4 separate regions of the Homo sapiens genome follow, and regions 1, 2 and 4 are each linked to region 3. The links are contacts of gene promoters, found by promoter capture Hi-C in blood cells and fetal thymus (Javierre and others, 2016). All regions are on one chromosome and are shown on one strand. The core of a region is centred on a gene start or on the middle of the fragment in contact, and the rest is flanking DNA. Distances in the headings are between cores, read along the strand shown.

What was found. The method cuts DNA at HindIII sites, captures the fragments that hold promoters and counts their contacts. A CHiCAGO score of 5 or more calls a contact.
Region 1: a contact is called between a fragment that was not itself captured here and the fragment with the promoter of CASP3 in region 3, in 1 of 17 cell types (neutrophils). The highest score is 5.6, in neutrophils.
Region 2: a contact is called between a fragment that was not itself captured here and the fragment with the promoter of CASP3 in region 3, in 2 of 17 cell types (naive B cells and neutrophils). The highest score is 6.0, in naive B cells.
Region 4: a contact is called between a fragment that was not itself captured here and the fragment with the promoter of CASP3 in region 3, in 1 of 17 cell types (activated CD4 T cells). The highest score is 5.1, in activated CD4 T cells.

Annotation. Positions count from the first base shown.
Region 1 is chr4:184,956,744-184,960,208 of GRCh38, forward strand. No RefSeq gene overlaps it. Among named protein-coding and RNA genes, the nearest start is that of MIR4455, 20 kb to the left of the region's middle. RefSeq lists a silencer at 787-950. The HindIII fragment of the contact is 2,716 bases long and covers 854-3,465 here.
Region 2 is chr4:184,320,838-184,324,028 of GRCh38, forward strand. No RefSeq gene overlaps it. Among named protein-coding and RNA genes, the nearest start is that of MYL12BP2, 8.1 kb to the left of the region's middle. The HindIII fragment of the contact is 3,269 bases long and covers 103-3,191 here.
Region 3 is chr4:184,648,110-184,651,636 of GRCh38, forward strand. CASP3 (caspase 3) reads right to left here and starts at 1,338. Exons shown (of 8, transcript NM_004346.4): 1 at 1,286-1,338; 2 at 356-522. PRIMPOL (primase and DNA directed polymerase) reads left to right here and starts at 1,629. Exons shown (of 14, transcript NM_152683.4): 1 at 1,629-1,799. RefSeq lists silencers at 846-1,055, 1,066-1,645. The HindIII fragment of the contact is 9,772 bases long and covers 1-3,527 here.
Region 4 is chr4:184,379,271-184,382,375 of GRCh38, forward strand. It overlaps LINC02362 (long intergenic non-protein coding RNA 2362), which reads right to left and starts at 3,036. Exons shown (of 6, transcript NR_125934.1): 1 at 2,864-3,036. The HindIII fragment of the contact is 210 bases long and covers 1,751-1,960 here.

The sequences.
Region 1 (3,465 bases), core at 962-3,461, 310 kb after region 3:
AGGTAAGGAGTTCAAGGCCAGACCGACCAACATGGTGAAACCCCGTCTCTACTAAATACAAAAAACCAGCTGGGCATGGTGGTGCACGCCTGTAATCCCAGCTACTCGGGAGGCTGAGGCAGGAGAATCACTTGAACCTGGGAGGTGGAGGTGGCAGTGAGCCGAGATTGCGCCATTGCACTCCAGCCTGGGCAACAAGAGCAAAAACTCTGTCTCAAAAAAAAAAAAAAAAAACACCAGTCCCCCAACTTCTTTGGCACCAAGGACTGGTTTCATGGAAGGCGAATTTGCCACAGGCCATGGAAGTGGGAGGTGGTTTCAGGATGATTCATTTATTGTGCATTTTATTTCTATAATTATTACATTGTAATATATAATTAAATAATTATACAACTCATGATAGTATAGAATCAGTGGGAACCCTGAGCTTGCTTTCCTGCAACTAGATGGTCCCATCTGGGGGTGACGGGAGACCGTGACAGATCATCAGGCACTAGATTCTCTTAAGGAGCACATAACCTAGATCCCTTGCATGCGCAGTTCACAAAAGGGTTCACTCTTCTTTGAGAATCTAATGCTGCCGCTGATCTGACAGAAGGCAGAGCTCAAGCGGTATGTGAGTGATGGGGAGTGGCTGTGAATACAGAGGAGGCTTCACTCGCTTGCCTGCTGCTCACCTCCTGCTCTGCAGCCTGGTTCCTAACCTCCTGGTTCTGGGTGTTGGAGACCCCTGCTATAAAGGAACACCTGCGGCTAGGCAATTTGTAAAGAAAAAAGTTTGAATTGGCTCACGATTCTACAGGCCATACAGGAAGCATGGCACCGACATCTGTGCCACTTGAGGGCCTGAGGAAGCTTACAAGCAATTGAGGGAGAAGGGGAAGGGGGAGCAGGTGCATCCTATGGTGAAAGCAGAGTGAGAGAGAAGCTGGAGGTGCCGCACTCTTTAAACAACTAGATCTCACACGAATTCACTCGCTCTTGCCAGGATAGCACCAAGCCATTCAAGAGAGATCAGCCCCTATGACGCAAACACCTCCCACTAGGCCCCACCTCCAACACTGGGGATCACATCATGAGACTTGGAGGGATACACATCCCGATGGAACAAGCGGCTGCTATGTGTGTGAGGATCTGGAGAAGCAAGAAGGGCCTTGCTCCCCTGGAGCTGACACTGCAGTGGGAGAGACAGCCGTAAATGTGCAGACAGACAGATGCATAGCACAGTGGTAGTGATAGCTATGTGTGCGGAATGAAATGGAGCGGAGGACGGAGAGGGACTGGAACAAGCAGCAGAGCTTTCACAGAGAATCCATCTTGCCCATCACTCATGTCCTACAGCACCCAACACATCACTGAGCAAGTTTATTAGGCCCCCGTGCTGCCCAACTTGCTTCCAGAGGCCTTGAAGGACACCAAAGAAGACGCATGGGATGCAGCTGGAGGCCAACCCTCAGAAAGCTCACCCTTTAGTTGGCAAGCCATGAGCACATAATTCTAGAAAGCGTGTAATTACATGCCCCGCGCTGTTGGTGTGGGGCTAATTCCAGGTGTGGCTGAAGGTTGCCAGAGGTGGCGACCATCTCAGCAGGAGGTGGGTAGGGAAGCCTCTGAGAAGAGGTGGCTCCTAGACATTGCTCTAAAGGCATGTTAATGTGAGGTGGAAACAGGCCCGGGTGCAGAGCAGCAGGCTTTCCCAAGACTTCATGGCTATTTATGAGGGTGGCTGAGATGTTTGGACCTAGAGAGGTTGGATACCCAGAGCTAGCCAGAGAAGCAGAGGAACACTGGGGGAAACAGACACACAAGCTCTCACCTCGCCTGTGCTGCACACTAATTTTAGAGCCTCAGGCATGTCATTTAATCTCTCTGTGCTTTAATGCCTTCCCCCTTAAAGGAGGGATAATAATTTATGTCAGCCTCTCCCCAGGGATGGTATAAGGGGAGAAAGGAGATAATAGCTGGGAACATGATTGGGATAATAAAGAGTAACAGGAATAAGCCTATTATTAAGTATTAATGTTATGATTTTGCAGCTCACAATTGGCAAGCTCCCTGAATAACTATACCACGAAGAATCTTGAAGCTGTGGCTTCTCTGTGGGCACTTTATCTTCAAACCCATCAGATTCCATAGATACTAAAACCCCGTGTTCGAGGTTTTATTTTCTACTATATGATTTGAATGTTCATTAACTGCTTAAACCTTGCAGCTCCTTCCAAGTGGCTCCTGAATACTGCTTGGGGTTGCTTGAGCACGACGTTGAATAGGGCCCCGGAGATACCCGCCCTGATGTAAGCTACACAGAAACGGGAACTACCGCACACTCTAAAGTCTTTCCCATATTTTGAGTGTGAAAGCAAATTGTCATTGCATTTTGGAATGAACCCAGGGCTCTGTGTCTCCAGCCAGGGTGCTGGGGCAGCGGTGAGTAGAGGCGGGTTGCAGGGATGGTCTTCCTTGAGCATCACTTTAGTTCATGGAAAATAATTTGAAAGATTATGATATTAAGTCAGATGTGTTTAACTCAGTGTCTCTGGCCTCTTTAGACACAAGCCTGTGTCTAAAAAGTAAATTATCCTTCTCTTTTCAGATGGAAGTGATGATGTCGTGAGCTCACACCAGGCTGCTTGCTGGAACTTCCGTGAATGCTCCAGCACGCTGCCCACGGTACTCTGGGACATCTCGCTTGGCTTCACTTTTTTATCTGTGTTGTCTCCGGCCTCTGTACCTTCATGACAGGTCTGCCCGGTGGGGCCCAGCTGATGCCCCCCACTGCCTCCCACCTGCAGCCTGGTGGCCAGGACATCCACCTCTCCCATCCCTGCAGCTTGGCTGAGATGATGAGCTGATGTAAGCACGTGGTGCTGAGCCTTGGGGCTAGCTGGAGGACCACACAGAGCGTAAGAGATGCCTGCACTAAAAGGGCTTGGCTGCCCTCACAATTGCTGTACTGCCCGCAGCAGGCTTCCCTCCATGGACACAGGCGCCACCACCCACACCCCACCAGGAAGAATCCCCAGGTAGCTCCACACCTTGGAATGAAGGCCAAGCAAGCTGCAGAGAGGAAAGCCTTACTTTCCCCAGTCTCAGTCCACTTCTTTTTGTACTCTGGGATTAAACTCTTTTCAGGATGACTAACAGTGGAAGCATCTATTTGTTCAGAAGGAAACAGCCACTCCGACCCACAGGTTCTGGTCTCTGCCGGCCGGTGCCAGTCAATAGAGTAACTGATGATGAATTTCACAAAGCCCAGTCCATTCCGTCTCAGATGCCAATAAGAATCCGTCCAGGCCAGGTGCAGTGGCTCGCGCCTGTCATCCCAGCACTTTGGTAGGCCAAGGCGGGAGGATCATTGGAGCCAGTAATTCGAGACCCGCCTGGGCAACGTAGGAAGACCCTGTTTCTACAAAAAGAAAAAGGAATCCGTCCAGGAGGACAAACGCTGTCAGCTCCAATTCTAGG
Region 2 (3,191 bases), core at 487-2,986, 330 kb before region 3:
GATTACTTACACGTGAGTTGAGCATAAACATCCGCCTGGAACATTCAGTCCGCGCCTCTGCAGCACGGCTGTCAACTCTAATAAATGTTTCCAGCATTAAAAAGCTTGTTTCTTATGGTGTCAAGAGAATAAAGCCAATTGGTGGTGAATCAGAAATATCTAGGGGGAGGTCTTTTGGAGAATCATGAATAAATATGACAAAAAGAAATCCATTTTAATTTGTATTAATTACTGAATAATTTCCTGTAGCATAATTGTTAAATTATTAATGAATACCATGAATTGTTTATTTTATTATGAAATAATTCTTTTTAATATACTTATTAATCTATCAGTGATAATTATTAATTAACTTACCATATGGATTAATTAATGCATAATGATGAAGTAGGTTGAGAAGGGCTGTAGCAAAAGATGGAACAAAACCAGGGGGATAAGCAAGAAAAGAACTCTGCTATGTCATGGGGCTTCCAGAAAATCAGATGAAAACATTCTGCAACTGGAAAAGTACATGTTCTCTTCTGTAATATGTCCTCTGCATAAATGTTTTAAAACTTCAAGTCGCCTTACCTGATCTTTTGTTTTTTTTTTTTTTTGAGACAGAGTCTCACTCTGTCGCCCAGACTGGAGTGCAGTGGCACTATCTCAGCTCACTACAACCTCCACCTCCAAGGTTCAAGCGATTCTCCTGCCTCAGCCTCCCATAGTCAGCTGGGATTACAGGCATCTGCCACCACACTTGGCTAATTTTTGTATTTTTAGAAGATACAGGGTTTTGCCACGTTGGCTAGGCTGGTCTCAAACTCCTGACCTCAGGTGAGACACCCACCATGGCCTCCCAAAGTGCTGGGACTGCAGGCATGAGCCACCGCACCTGGCTGTCCTACCTGATTTTTAAGGAGTAAGTAATCATTTGTGTAGATTTTAGTTTTTTGTTTGTTTGTTTTTATTTTTTTTAAAAAGTATAACATTTGGCCAGGTGCGGTGGCTCATGCCTGTAATCCCAGCACTTTGGGAAGCCGAGGTGGGTGGATCACAAGGTCAAGAGACCAAGACCATCCTGGCCAATATGGTGAAACCCTGTCACTACTAAAAATACAAAAATTAGCTGGGCGTGGTGGTGCACACCTGTAGCCCCAGCTACTTGGGAGGCTGAGGCAGGAGAATCATTTGAACCCGAGAGGCGGAGGTTGCAGTGAGCCGAGATCATGCCATTGCACTCCAGCCTGGTGACAGAGCGAGACAGCGTCTAAAAAAAAATTATATATATATATATATATATATATACACACACACACACACACACACATAATATTTAATATGTCAACAAGATTTTTAGATTTTTTTCTTTCTTTTAACTTTTATTTTAGGTTCAGGGGTGCATATGCAGGTTTGTTATGTAGGTAACTTACGTGTCATGGGAGTTTGGTGTACAGATTATTCCACAGCCCAGGTCATAAGAATAGTACCTGACAGGTAGTTTTTCGATCCTCACCCTCCTCTCTCCCTCCACCCTCCAGAAGGCCCTGGTGTCTGCTGTTCTCTTCTTTGAGTCCTTGTGTACTCAATGTTTATCTCCCACTTATAAGGGAGAATATGTGGTGTCTGGTTTTGTTTCTGTGTTAGTTGGTTCACGTAGGATAATGGTCTCCAGCTTCATCCATGTTGCTGCAAAGGACATAATCTCTTTCTTTTTTATGGCTGTATAGTGCTCCATGGTGTGTATGTATCACATTTTAGATTTCTTATTTTAAAAAAATTCAATGCCCCCAAAATGTAATCACCTACAAACATTTCACCAGGTGAAAACTTTCTCATCCCACAAACTTTAGGCCATGGACAGTATGCTTTTCCAGAATCTAGGGAAAAGTTAAAGCCCTGGGCACAAGGTAAATTCACTTAGAATTTCAGGGTAGATACTGATTTTTATTAGGCTCTTGTGCCACTCACAGAAATGCCACATGCTCTTAGTCATCAGCCTCACACTAATACCTGTATACCACATCCTATTCAACAGAAAGGAATATCCACTTTAACACCCATCAGGAAAAAAAAAATGCTCTTTTTAAAATAAATCACTGACAATTTTCTCAAATAAAATGTCGGATCAAAAAATAAATGCAGGCCAGTCATGGCAGCTCATGCCTGTAATCCCAGCACTTTGGGAGGCCAAGACAGGTGAGTCACAAGGTCAGGAGTTCAAGACCAGCCTGGCCAACATGGTGAAACCCCGTCTCTACTAAAAACACAAAAATTAGCCAGGTGTGGTGGTAGGTGCCTGTAATCCCAGCTACTTGGGAGGCTGAGGCAAGAGAATCGCTTGAACCCGGGAGGTGGAGGTTGCAGTGAGCTGAGATCATGCCACTGCACTCCAGCCTGGGCAATAGAGCGAGACTCTGTCTAACCAAAAAAAAAAAAAAAGAAAGAAAGAAATGCATAAACAAATGTATCCCTACAATGGGATATTATTCAGCCATAAAAAGGAATGAAGGGCTGGGCGCAGTGGCTCACACCTGTAATCCCAGCACTTTGGGAGCCCGAGGTGGGAGGATCCTGAGGTCAAGAGATTGAGACTATCCTGGCCAACATGGTGAAACCCCACCTCTACTAAAAATACAAAATTTAGCTGGGCGTGGTGGCACGCACCTGTAGTCCCAGCTACTCAGGAGGCTGAGGCAGGAGAATCGCTTGAACCCAGGAGGCCGAGGTTGCAGTGAGCCGAGATAGCATCACTGCACTCCAGCTTGGTGACAGAGCAAGACTCCATCTCAAAAAACAAAAAACAAACAAGCAAAAAAAGGAATGAAGTTCTGACACAGGCTACGACATGGATGAACATTGATTGGAAACATGCTGCTAAGCGAAAGAAGCCAGACCCAAAAAAGAAACACTGAATGATTCTGCTCATACAAGGAACCTAGAATTGGCAACTTCATAGAGGCAGAAGGTTGAAGAGACGTTACCAGGGACTGAGGGGAGAGAGAGCTGCTGTTTACTGGATATGGAGCTTCTGTTTGGGATGATGAAAATAATGAAAACATTTTTGGAAATAGATGGTGGCAATGGTTGCACAGCATTGTGAATGTAATCAATGCCAGTGTACCGGCCTCCTAAAAGTGGTTCAAATGGCAAATTTTATGTCTATTTCATCACAATAAAAAGTACAAATATGAAAATAAATGACGACTTGG
Region 3 (3,527 bases), core at 88-2,587:
TAAGGAGGGGTGGGGGCACTCAGGACCCAACACACGCAGGGGTTTGTTAGCCATATTAAGTGCTGGGTTTAACCTAAGGGCAAAGGACGAGCTTTCTAGACTTTCATTTCATAAAGATCCCTCTGCCTGTGCTGTAAAAAGTGGACTGCAAAGGAGCAGGCGGGTCTGGAAGTGGAGAGACCAGGGAAGAGGCTGCTGTGGTCAGACGGCTGAAATCAGAGATAGAGAGACGCGGACAGATCTGGCAGACATTTACAAGGTCGACAAGGCTTGGCGACTAAGCAGGAAAAGAAGTGGGTGGGCGAGAGGGGGCTGCGAACGATGTTTTCCGGTTTCCTGCTTGGGTGCCACTTACTGAGAATGGGGGAAGAGGCAGGTGCAGGGCACACCCACCGAAAACCAGAGCGCCGAGTGTGAGCAGGGCTCGCTAACTCCTCACGGCCTGGGATTTCAAGGCGACGCCAACCAGCTGTGGCCACGGATACACAGCCACAGGTATGAGCTGCGAGCACTCACGAAACTCTGCAGGGCCGAAAAGGAATTGGAGTTTAAACCCTGCAACTATCTCTCTGGAAGAGCTAAACCACATTGTCAACCCGGGATAATCCAGGCCCCAGGCATGGAAGGCAGCAGAGACGGAAGCCTCGTCCAAAATTGGAAGGATCAGCCCCCAGGGCGAGTATCTCACAGTCAGCACCCGGCCGCCCCAGCCCTCGCAGCACCGCTTCCCGGGGCCACTCCTCCGCCGGCGGTAGCGCCGTCCGTTTCCCAGCTTGCCGCTGCCTTCCGCCGCCTGACCCGGCCTTCCGGCACTCGGCCGGCCGCCAGGTCTCCCGCCCTCGGAGCTCGGTGCCCCGTGCCCGACCTCCCGGCCCCGGGCTCGGTTCCCCTGGCCAGGCCTCCCGCTGCCTGGCCTCCCCGGCCCGGCCTCGCGCTGCCCGGCCTCCCCGGTCCCAGCCCAGCCTCCCGCCCCCGGGCCAGGTCTCCCCTCCGATGACCTGAGGCCTTTCCTTAGGTTACCCCCAGGTCCCTCTCCCTAAATCAAAAGCCTTAACCCGCTGCCTGGCTTCCCCGGCCCCGGCCCAGGCTCCCGCCTCCGGGCCAAGTCTCTCGCTCCGCGGGCTTCACTGCTCGCCCCCGCCCGGGCGAGGTGGCAAAACAAACACTCCGCCTTCCAGACCGGGCAGGTACCCGGGCGGGCGCAGGGCCTGGGAGAACGCAGGGAGCGGGGGCAGGGCTGACGGCCCGGAGCGAGGGCGGCAGTCACCGCACAGCCTCCTCATACCTTCTACAACCGCCTCACAATAGCACCCATCCGCTAGGAGCCGCGTCTGCACTGCTTCCGCGGCCCGCCGCCGGGAGATGTGCTCCAGCGCCAGCCCCGCCTCCCGCCCGCCCCTGTCGGCCCCTCGCGCCGCCTCCGCTGCGGCCCGTCCCCTAGCTCCCGCCCGCCCGAGAACCCAGCCCCAGGCTGGGCCCCAGGAGGCGCCCGCCCACCGCAGCGCGCCCCGCCCCCGCGCCCCGCGTCCTCACGCCCTGGTCCCGCCCTCGCGTCCCGCGCCAGTCCTCCCGCTTTGGTCCCGCCCTGAGGCTCGGCCCGGCTCCCCCGCCCCGGATTTGAAATCTAGGTCTTCCTGAGAGTCCGCGGGCTTCCGCTCCCAGCGCGGGATTCTGGAGGGAAATTGAGGGAGACTTGGAAACCGCGCCAGGCCCAACGGGTACCTAGAAGGGAGACAAAGCCAGGCCTGCTGCCCAGTTTGAGCTCTGGGAAGAAGAGGAGCAGGCCGGGACGCCCACCGGTAATTTCTGTCTCCTCTGCGATGACCTGAGGCCTTTCTTTGGGTTACCCTCAGGTCTCTCTCCCTAAATCAAAAGCCTTAACCTCCTGTCATCAGGGTGCCAGGCTAGAAATAACCAGGTCCACGCATGCTGTGTTTTCCACCATGTCAGGCTGCTGTGGACGCTCTTTCGATCACAAAAGCCACGAGCTGCGTGGAGTTCCCAAGGAGGCAGTTCTCAGCACTTGCTGGTCACTGGGTAGTCAGAGCCTGACACACAGGCTCAAGCCGCTCACGCATCATAGTAGTGTACTTAATCCACATATAAATGTTACAAGTTAAGCATCCCACAACAAAGTAGCATTTAACATCATGAGGAAAAAGAGATGGGGCAAAGAGATTAACGAACCAATCCAGAGGGAGTGAAGAAGAGGAAAAGAAGCCTGGTTTGGGCCGAGAGGTCCTTCTGCAAAGACGGCGTCAATTAAGCCGGCTGTTGGGAGCTGCCGAAGGCCCCATCTTTTATAGTCACAGAGTCCTGTGGTGAGAACTGGTAATGGAAGAGAGTGCTTGTTTGTGTCCTTACCTGGCTGGATGCGGACTATTTTTTTATTTGTTTATTAAAGTATAGTATGCTTGTTGGCAAATGCCTTATGAAATGTAAAAATGGGGTCTTCTCCTAAGATGGAGTTATTAATGGTTACGTCAATGGTGTGCTATATACACTGCCCTACCGATCCCCTTCCTATTTTGGGTCGTGAACTCATTTCAGACCCTGAAGCAAACTGTGAATCATTTTCGCAGAAGAATTCACCAACACATGTGAGCACGACATTCTGCATCAGATTTCAAAAAGTTCTTGACATTCAGAAGTCAGATTCAGGGACCCCATGGCAGAGCCTGTTTCTAACACTTGCGCCTATTCGACTATAGGGACTATATTCTGCACAGAAATATACTTAGTTTTATATATGGTTACCCCTTGCTGAGTTTATTGCATGCTTTTACATTTTCATAATACATTTGTTTGTTTCAGCCTTTCAACAATCCCTCGGGATAGGAATTCCAATTTAAAGAGGATAAGGTTTAAAGAGGTTAAGGCCGAGTTTAAAGAGGTTAAGTCCCGGCGCGGTGGCTCATGCCTGTAATCCCAGGACTTTGGGAGGCCGAGGCAGGTGGATCACGAGGTCAGGAGTTCGAGACCAGCCTGGTCAAGATGGTGAAACCCTGTCTTTACTAAAAATACAAAAAAAATTAGCCGGGTGCAGTGGTGGGCACCTGTAATCCCAGCTACTTGAGAGGCTGAGGCAGGAGAATCGCTTGAACCCGGGAGGCAGAGGTTGCAGTGAGCTGAGATTGCGCCACTGCACTCTAGCCTGGGCAACAGAGCAAGACTCTGTCTCAAAAAAAAGAAAAAAAAGGGGTTAAGTAGTTTGCTGTTGCTAAAAAGACAGTCACAGGAGTTAAACTCAGATCCCACAAATAAGACTTAGGCCTTTCTTTATCCCTCCTGAATTGAGTGAACACCAATGTTTGACAGTCCTTTTTCTGCCTCAATAAAACTGAGAAATAGGACCCACTCCCAACCTTAACAGTGGCTCTGCAGAGCAGTAATTTGCAAAGAGGGGACTAGTGTGGTTGAACTAGTCCTTATCCTATTGTGATGCCCAAACCCCTTCCTGTGCTAAACTTTCTTGCCAAATTAGCAAGCATTAGCAGCAGTTTTCTGGTTTCCTGTAAATCATACTA
Region 4 (3,105 bases), core at 606-3,105, 270 kb before region 3:
TGGAGTCTCACTCTATTGCCCAGGCTGGAGTGCAATGGCGCAATCTCGGCTCACTGCAACATTTGCCTGCTGGGTTCAAGTGAGTCTTCTGCCTCAGCCTCCCAAGTAGCTGGGATTGCAGGAACCTGCCAGCATGCCCGGCTAATTTTTGTATTTTTAGTAGAGACGGGGTTTCACCATGTTGACCAGGCTGGTCTCAAACTGCTGACCTCAGGTGATCTGCCCACCTTGGCCTCTCAAAGTGCTGGGATTACAGGTGTGAGCCACTGTGCCCAGCCTCCACTACCATTTTTGAGGTCCCTCCCACCTTTAGTATCCAGGGTTCTCTGCTTTTGTGTGCCAATCCACTAAGTACACTTCTGCCATCCCTAGCCCTGGAGCTGCCACTGCTTGGGCCAACGGCCTACCTACTGCCTTTCTGCCTTTAGGCAATTTTCATTCCTTAGCTAAGGCTTCTGCTTTCCCTACTGTCTTAGTCACTTTGGGATGCTATAACAAAATACCTCAGACTTGGTAATTTATAAACAATAGAAATTTATTTCTCACAGTTCTGGTGGCTGGGAAGTCCAAGATGAAGGCATAAGCAAATTCAGTGTCTGGGGAGGACCTGTTTCTCATAAATGGCACCTTCTATCTGTCCTCACATGGTGAAAGGGGCAAACAAGCGTCCTTAGGCCTTTTTAATAAGAGCATCAACCCATTCATAAGGGCGGAGTCCTCATGACCTAATCATCTCTCAAAGTCCCCACCTCTTAATACTATTGCATTGGAGATTGTGTTTCAATATATGAATTTCGAGGGGACATAAACATTCAGACCATAGCATCTACTGATGCAGTCCTATTCCAGAATGTCTAGGAACTTTTACCGGGCCATATGCCTCTGTCATTACTGGGGAAGTTCTCATCTTCTACTTGATCTGTCACCCAGGCTCAGGCCACTAAGAAATAGCTAGGGAAAACTCTGCTTAATATAGGTGATATGGTTTGGCTCTGTGTCTCCACCCAAATCTCATCTCATATTGTAATCCCCATAATCCCCACTGTTGAGGAAGGGACCTGGTGGGAGGTGATTAGATCATCGGGGTGGTTTCTGCATGTTGTTCTCGAGATAATGAGTGAGTTCTCACAAGATCTAATGGTTTTGTAAGTGTTTGACAGTTCTGCCTTCACGGGTTTCTCTCACCTGCCGCCATGTAAGACATGCCTGCTTCCTCTTTTGCCATGATTGTAAGTTTCCTGAGGCCTCCCCAGCCATGTGGAACTATGAGTCAATTAAACCTCTTTCCTTTATAAATTACCCAGTCTTGGGTATTTCTTTATAGTAGTATGAAAACGGGCTAATACAAGGGGTGACTGGGACCTGAAGTGGCAGTTTTACACTCCCAGCCATTCTCTCTTCAAGGTACACACACCCCTTGAAGCAGGCAGGTGTCTTCACGGGTTCAGGCAGCCGTCAAGACACTGTACCAAGAACACCTCCTACCACCTTCAGAGCCTAATTGGCCCCATCCTCAGGCTAGATTCTTTTCCTGGGATCCCTTCTCTGCAAGCTCTTCTAGCTCTTTTCCCAGGAGCCTCCTCAGCCCCTACGTTAATCTGTTTATGCAAACATAACACAGAAGGCCTGGCCCTGCCCTCATGCCTGGCACAGGTTAGGTTCTGACAAAGCACCTGCCATGTAAGCTCCCTCATCCTGTCCTGAGTGTGAGATTCTAGCATAGGGTAGAAAGATACCAAGAAAGCACAAAAGCTTAACGTTTGTGGCTCTGTTTTATGAATATGTTGAAATATTCCCAATTTCAAAATTGCTGAGTCAAAATGTCATGAATCCCAGGATCTAGTGGGAATTATAATGCAAACTGGTCCACAAGGGAAACTGTATCAACGGCCAGAATGAAGCAAATTAGAATCACTTCAATAATCAAAAGTTAATGTAATTCTACTGGGTGGCTTTATAAAGCTTAAAAAGTTTGTTTGAATCTATGTTGTTTAAAAAACAAAATTGGCCAGCCACGGTGGCTCACACCTATAATCCCAGCACTTTGTGAGGCTGAGGCGGGTGGATCACTTGAGCTCGGGAGTTTGAGATAAGCCTGGGCAACATGGTGAAACTCTGTCTCTACAAAAAACATACAAAAAAATTAGCTGGGCATGGTGGCATGCACCTGTATTCCCAGCTACTACTCAGGAGGCTGAGGTGGGAGGATGGCTTGAGCCCAGGAGGCAGAGGTTGCAGTGAGCCTGCACTCCAGCCTGGGTGACAGAACAAGACCCTGTCTTAAAAAACAAAAATCAAATTGAATTAACTGCCAGCAGGTTTATATCCCCTTCAACTTCTACCAGAAAGGAATAAATTCTCAGCTCCTTTTATGCCACTTGACAACAGAATGAGGCTTGCTCAAAAAAGGGATAGCTCAGAGAAGGAAAGACTAATTTTAGCTATATAGAAACTGGGGTCACATGTCTGAGCTCTGACAGCCTCAGTGGTCAAATCTTGAATTCATGGAAGTCTGGGAGAAGATGGGTACTTTGGAATCAGTGCTCCAAAATATGGATCTTAGCTATTTTATATGCAGATGGTGTGGCTGATATAACTGAGTGCTTGCAATGTACTTCATACTTTACATTATCTTATCTAATTCTCACCTTGCAAGTAAGGTGTCAATACCCCCATTTTATATGTTGAGAAACTTTTTCTCATAGATACAAAGAGATGTGCCCAAAGTCGTCAGCAAATAAGAGCAGACTGAACCCAGGTTTATCTGATTTCAAAAAACGTATTCTCTTCCCACTACATATGTTGCTTTCCCAACTACTCTGGAAGGTATGGGATGCAGATTTCATTCTCTGGATATTCTTACCTTGGATTTTTCACTCCCTTTGGTATTCCTGGCAGGTTTCCTGAGGTGTGACAGACATCCTGAAGAGGCACTCAGCACCCATTCTCAACTCCTTCTGGAGTGTCTTCCTCTACTGCAGAGGCGGGAACTCTGAGAGCCATTTTTCCAGTCTCACTTGCAGCTGGGGTTCTAACTGTGAATTAGGTTCAACCAATTATATGCATTTGCAAGAGATTTGGAAGTCAGAATGGAGGCAGAAGCCA